Regions from separate parts of the Homo sapiens genome. Here region 1 is linked to region 2. Evidence: promoter capture Hi-C in 16 types of primary human blood cells and fetal thymus (Javierre and others, 2016). All regions are on one chromosome and are shown on one strand. Each heading gives the region's core, a stretch centred on a gene start or on the middle of the fragment in contact. The rest is flanking DNA. Distances are from core to core; before and after follow the strand shown.

Evidence for each region. Contacts are between HindIII fragments. The CHiCAGO score rates a contact against its expected background, and 5 or more counts as called.
Region 1: a fragment that was not itself captured here is called in contact with the fragment with the promoter of ZFPM2-AS1 in region 2 in 4 of 17 cell types (M2 macrophages, M1 macrophages, fetal thymus and 1 more); the score reaches 6.5 in M2 macrophages.

Annotation. Positions count from the first base shown.
Region 1 is chr8:104,948,336-104,951,761 of GRCh38, forward strand. No RefSeq gene overlaps it. Among named protein-coding and RNA genes, the nearest start is that of LINC03084, 240 kb to the right of the region's middle. The HindIII fragment of the contact is 5,175 bases long and covers 1-3,426 here.
Region 2 is chr8:106,058,386-106,062,110 of GRCh38, forward strand. ZFPM2-AS1 (ZFPM2 antisense RNA 1) reads right to left here and starts at 2,118. Exons shown (of 5, transcript NR_125797.1): 1 at 1,996-2,118. RefSeq lists an enhancer at 1,613-2,812. The HindIII fragment of the contact is 2,678 bases long and covers 1,334-3,725 here.

The DNA of each region.
Region 1 (3,426 bases), core at 731-3,230, 1.1 Mb before region 2:
AAAAGAGGTAAAAGTATAGTGTCATGCAGGTTGAGGAATTGAAGAGATAACCAGCTTGAAGGGGGTGAGAGTATATTAGGGGTGACTTCATAAAGACCGGTTGTTGAATATGTTAATTGGAAACACTGCTTGTATAAATTGCATTGACTAATGCCTCGTGTATATGTATGTGTGTGTACATGGAAGATACTTGCCTCCCATAGTGGAGCTATTTGATTTGTGTCATGCATGAAACAGCTTTACAGAATGAGGGTCAAACATAGGTATCCACAGCATGAGGTCATTTTCAAAACTCAGTTTTTAAATGAGTAACATACCAATTCACCAATTTTATCTGTATTCATACAAATATAAAAACCATGTTACACAAACTGGGATTTAAAGTTCTCATATGATGAAAAATACACAAACTAAATTTGTTGAGTCTTTTTGGAGCAGAAGTAGTCAGTTCCTAGGAAGTAATTCTTTTTGTGAAAAGTCAGATTTCTCATGAAGTGCTGGTACTATTGGAGTCATAATAAAAAAAATTTACATTTATCTCTGCAACAAGTAAATAGAATAAAATTTCAGGAGAACAAACTTCAAGATAAAAATTTGATTTTTGACATCTTGACTTTATGGTTTAGCTTTCAGTTTAGCTGTAGATTAAAGGACAAAGTCAAGACTTCAACAAATATTTATTTGTTTATTATTTATTTACATTAAAATGGAAAGTTCTTTCCTGTCAAGTTAAGAGCACAGGTTGTGAACTCAGGATGCCTGGATTTGAATTTCATGTTCAGTTTTTACCAGAAATATGACATTGAGCAAGTTCTAACTCTAACCTTCAGTATTTCATTCTGTAAAGTGGAGCTAATAACATCTCAAAAATTGTTGAGAGAATGTGGTAATATACTTTGCATTGTGCCCAGAATTTGGAAAAATGTCAATGAATGTTAGCTGCTGTTGTTATTATTGTTATGATGGTAGCTAACTTTCTTGCAGTAGAGGAATAACAACATTTAACATATAGTAGTAGTTATTATCTATGAGACATTTGTGAGTACGAATATATGAGTATAAAAACCTGTACCCTTAAATTATGCACTGAAACTTTGTATTCTTTTGACTTCATGTAACTGAGAACAAAACTTGAGCTCACCTGAATCCTCTAGACTTTATGAAGTACTGTTAGAAGACACTTGTGACAACAAACAGCACAGAGAACCACATTCCCTGCCTTTAACCTCTGAGTCACAGTTATACAGCATAAATCATACAAACCGTCTCGGACATGTACTATAGCTCAAGTCTCTCCTCCTCAATTATTTTCTTTTAAACTCAATCTGTGAGGAATATTTGGGTAAATAACCTTTCTCCTTGTTTCTGTTACTTTCCACATGTCAAAAATAGAATATGGCCAAACTATTCTTTTCCACATTACTCATTTTAACCAGGAGTGCTCAGAAAAGTTTGGAAATGACTTTCAGAGAAACATTTTTAATTGTTTTTAATTTATCTAAAAACAGGCTAAAAAGTTTAATTAACAGGCTCCAAGTAACAGTTATACCATTTTTCCTCTGCTATCAGCTTTCACTTTTATTTACGATGAGTGTCCCCTTGTGTCTCCTCTACGCCAAGGTCCACTATCACTAATATTTCTGTGATATGTGAATAAACCTAAATGTAAAGTTAGCACTTGCAATCAATGCAAATTAATGATTTTTTTAAAAATTTCAATCAGGAAAAGCAGCTTTGTAGTTGAAAATCCCATGCTGGCCCTAGAGTGGGAGTTTTTCCAGCCTCTGCTTAAATCCAAAAAAATACTGCAATCTTCTGGCACAGGCTCACTGTAATGCTTTAAAAACAATTTAGCAACTGTCATTGCTGTAATTACAGTAACTAATTACCATCCTTAGCAAACAAATAGCTTAACATAATACGCAAGCCGAATCAATTTTGAAGAAATGCAAATTCCAAAAGCGAAAAAGGGCATTTTGGCAAACCTGAAAGAGAAGCAGGAAAATAATACACTTTGTTTTATCTGCACATAATTCCCAGGGAATATCATATCATAAATATTTGCATTCAGTTCTTATCAGGACATTTGCATTTGCTTCTTATCAGCGTGCAGACTGGACTCTGCCAGATAGAGAGGGGAGCGCCACACCATGCACATATTTCTAATGAATCACGTCTCAGGCCCAGAGAATATTTTGGCTGGAACTTTATCACCCAGATGAAGAGGTCATTTACTCTTCGAGTTGGTTCATCTTGGAATTGTCTTGAGATTTTGATGTGATTCACCCGACGCCACATTTATTTATTTCTTTATTTTAGACAAACACTGGAAGCAGTTTTTTTACCAGAATATTTCTTCCAGAGGCAGCTATTCAAAGGACACATTTCCCCTCGCCTGCCACCCCCTCCCCACCCACTCCTCAACTTCTGCAAAAAATAAAATCATGAGTAAATAACAACTGATTCTAATTATTTCTAATTCTGTACCAGGGTTGGCCATCTTTATTTTGTAGGAATCAATAGAGAGAATAAAAGCAACACGTAGAATAAATCAAGCCCTACTCGACCATCATTATCTGGAAATTTAGGGCCAAATCCTGTTGTAGTTCTCCAGGAGCACATTTGATCCTTAGTAAGGGTCTTCCTTAGTAAGAGGAGGCAGTGTTGCTGGCCCGGAAGCACCTTACTAATGAGACCATCAGATTCCTCTAACAGTTTATCCAGATAAATCAATTTCTCATCTTATGATGAGTAACAGTGCATCTTACCCATGAGCACACATAAGGTCGATAAGGGAGCTGATAGCAGCTTCTCATATGTGAATGAGAATTCCGTCTTTTTTAACTCTTGAATTATCATCTGACATGACACCCAGCATGCATTGGCTTGCTGCGCCTGAACATAAAGCACTCAAGCAGTCTATTTTGTTTTGGCGAGAGAAGCAGAAATATTATTCATCTTGATTGGATCCTTTCTGTTGGGTCTTGCTGTTTAATTAAACCAGATCTGTGTTTTAGCTCTTTGGTAACATGGGGTTCAAATAGACAGGGATATTATATCCTTATGTAAAACAAGGGCCGGTTGGTGTCCAAGAATCATGGCTATGCAAGTAAAGATTTCTACAGGCGTGCTATTATTACACAATTTCCCCTGTAATTTTATCATCTACTTGATATTATTGCACAAATTCTGAGGTCAAACTTCAAAGTAAAACTCTGGATGGGATCAATCTGAGTACCAGGAATTCAATTTCCAATTATAAATTAAAATATAGGTATAATGGGAAAATTTCTCATTTATAATAGTAGCAAAAATGCATTTAATTGTGCTTCATAGTGATTTTATTCATGAATATGGTCACTTAAACTTAATTTCACCTTTTGCCCAAGTAGAATTTCACTTTGATTTATTTGTTTAACATAAAAA
Region 2 (3,725 bases), core at 868-3,367:
CTTAATATGCAACACAGTTTAAAAGCCACAGATATAAATAAATATTTTAAATAAGAATATAATATGCTTGTCTTATAGCAGGTCTATCTGTAGATGGCATTTCTCTTCATTATCACATAGTTTAAGCCAGTGCTTCCCATCATTTTAAAATCACGGTGTACACAGAAAACTGTGATAGATTATATAGCTCACCGAGGGTAAATAGAGCAGGTTGTATGGAGCAGAAGTAACCAGCCCAGAAACCTCAGCTGCTCCAGTTGGAGCCAAGCTTCCCAGGGCAAAAGGTCAGCATCAAGGCCCACGGGTAACCCATTCCTTCCTGCTCAAAGATGGAGGCATTATGCCTGAAATTATACTAAAGTGTAGAGTCAACAAACAACAGAAGGAAGACGTAAGTATACATGAAAACTAATTGCATTGATTTTTCTCTCTTTTTTTATGAGGCTCCTGGGTTTCAGGCCGGTTTAAAAAAGGATTTTCACAGACTAGAATGAGCCTGTGAGTACATAGGCAATCTCAGAGTACTTCAGGAGGCACACGTGACACAAACTCATCCTTCATTCTGAATTAATGGCCAAAGAAACGCAAATTTTGCTTAAATCTAGAGTCATTCCAGCTCAAGTTCCACCAATATTATTCTGACCCTCTTCCTCAAGGCTAGACAAGGTTGGGAATTGTCATTTCCTTTATCTTACCTTAAGCTCCACTATGAGAGAAGTGTGAAGAACTTAATAATCACCAGCACCAGAACCTAATTAAGAATGGATTTGAAAGCTATAAAATCATAGCAATATAAGAAAGGAAGAAAGATCCATTTTTATTAAAAGTACATCTTTTTAATAGAAATAAAGAACATATAGCATATGGAATGAGAATACAAAATAAGACAGAAAAAGCTGATTTTAATTGTGCTTAATTAAGAACTGTACATGTGGGATTATGAAAAAGAAAAGAATAGTTGGCTTCAATTACTTTTTGCCAAAAAACAGATAGGATGAAATGTAGCTTTTAAAGTATAAAATTAAATCATTCAAGAGGGGTTGTACTGAGGTAAATTTCATATTTTAAACTTTTGCAGCTGGTAAATAACAATGTTCAAAGGTTTTACTTAAGTTATTTCAAACTCAAATTTCGGAGATCAGGAGGAGTAATGTGTAAGAACTTTTTCCCCCAAAATATTTATGAAGCATCAACTGTGAGCAGTGCCGTATTTCCTGTCTATACTGACAGTCTAATTCAAAACCAAGATATAGTTACCATGAGTGAAACTGCTCCTGTAAACTTTATAAATTCAATCAGGGAAGAAGGGACGGGGAGAAATGAAAATAAAGCAAGCTTGCAGCACACCCAGCATTAATCATTATGTTAGATGCTCTGTGATCCATTCCTCATAGTTGTTTGCCTATTGCCTCCGAATTACATAGACCCTGTTACAAGATTACCGTTCCCCTTCACTGCTCTACAGATAAAAACTTAAAATACCTCAAAGGGAAAACATAAGTTCTATTCTTTCAAGTCCTGCAAGCCCTGTAAAAGAATGAAACTACTGACATCAGCTAGTCTGAAGGACCCCACAAGAAGCTGACTCACCAAAGAATGCAGTTTCTACATCCTCATGATGTCATCCCCCTTACCCCAAATATCAACAATCTCAATGCTCCAACCTCTCACCCTCCATGATCCCATTAAAAACCCCAGCCAAGTGCTCCTTGGGGAGACGAACTTGAGGGTCTCCTCCCATCTCCTCACTTGGTATCCGGTGAGCATTAAACTCTTTCTCTGCTGTAAACTCTGTTGTCTCAGTGTAACTGATCTGTTACTGTACAGTGGTCCTGTGTACTTGCTAGTCCTATAACAGGAAGAGGAGGAAAAAAGAAGGAAAGAAGTAGGAGAAAGAGGAGCAGGAAAAGAAAACATGTTGAGAAGTATTTACTTGCCTCACTTCAAAGAATATCACAGACATTAACAATCTTACACTCTGGAGAAAGTACTTACTCTTTGAGGTTCAAATTCTTTGTTGATAAGATGTGTACAGGAATTTCTGCTGGTGGATTCATTGTAGGAAAAGGTAGAATGCGTACTACATACTGTAAGGAAAACGGATGTGCTGCGGTCAAGAATAGGTCGAAGCAGACATCCGGTCCAGCATGACTCAGTGAGTTTGGAGCTCACTCACACAACTCAGCTCATTAGGTAACCACGCCACGTGAGGCGCATTAGTAACCAGTCACGTGAGCGCGTGCTTGATTCAGAGCCACTGTCGTCTGTAAAAGTTATAACTACACTGCTGATGCTGTACATATGGCTTATGCGCAGAGAGAGAGAAAAGCCATGTCAAAACTGTCTACGATTCCCCCAGTGTTTTTCCGGCTACCCACCACTCACCCACTGACTCCCCTCGGACCTCAGTTAGAACCTGACACATACCTTGAACAATCCTGGGCACATAGAATGTAGGTTTGTGGTTGAATACCCTCACCACCTCCATCTTAGTATATTTAAAGCTAAAGTCACAGCTTTTCTCCTTACATTAAAGCATCCTTCTCTTTTGAATTGTTGCATTCTATTTTATCTGCCCAATATTTCTTAGAGGCGATGTTTTCACTTCTTACCATCACCTCATGAGTTAAAATTTTGATACTTAACTCTTTAGTTATTGTAGTATCTACCTAATTGATGTTTTTCCTTTCTACCTTTGCAAATTGCCTGTTCCAAATATAAGTAGAAACAAGCAAGAAAGAACTCTGAAGGATAATTCATCTCAGCTGGAACCCATGGCCTCATAGGGGCTTCCTTACAATCAACTAACTGAAGGGGAAAAGCCTGAGCTTGGTCCATGGGATCAGTTGGCTGATAGGTTAGTAAAAGTATAAAATGGTATGCCATCACTCCAGCCCCACCCAGGGACTGCCTGAAGACTGGGGGTAAAGGAACATCCTCTCAATGAGCAGAACTGCAAGCAAACCTGGTTATTCATCTTGGCTGCAAAGAAGAGTAATATGAGGTAAAGATATATGGAACTGCTGGGCTTGTCTTCATGGGCAGAAGCCTGGTAGTGGCAAGACTAGAAGAGAGTAAAAATGAAATTTGTGTTGAGGCAAGTTTATGAACCTATTGGAGTAGTACAAAGGGTGTGGAGGATTGCTGGCACATTAATGCCTGTAGGAGAACATCTGCTACATAAGAAGCACTCAACAGCTAGGGAGGAAGGATGACTTATTCTGTGGATATCAGCCAACCTCCTCAACCACCTAGATTATGCACAGTGGATATATGAGCACAAAGTCAGGAATAGAGTCTATGCACAGACCCAAAGCATGGACCTCCTAATGTTGATCTAGCTACTGCTTCTACTGATTATTCTATAAAGAAAATTACATGTATCCCAGATGTAGAGTTGCATTCCTGCCCCCTGCCAGGGTAAAGACTTACAGAGCTTCTGCTCTATCCAGTGGAAGTTACTCTACCACACAAATAACTTAGATGCAATGACATATTGGCTGAGTATGAGGAAAGTCTAGAATGGGTGGTGGAGAAAAGGGATGAGAAGTATCAGCTATAGCATCAGGACCATTTGCAGCAGTGGGACCTCTACCTTTTTCCACTAACTCTTATGGATTAAATTGCATCCTCCAAAAACATATGTCAAAATCCTAATCTCCAGTGTCTTAGAATGTGACCTTACTTGGAAATACAGTTTTTGCAGATTTAATTAGTTATGATGA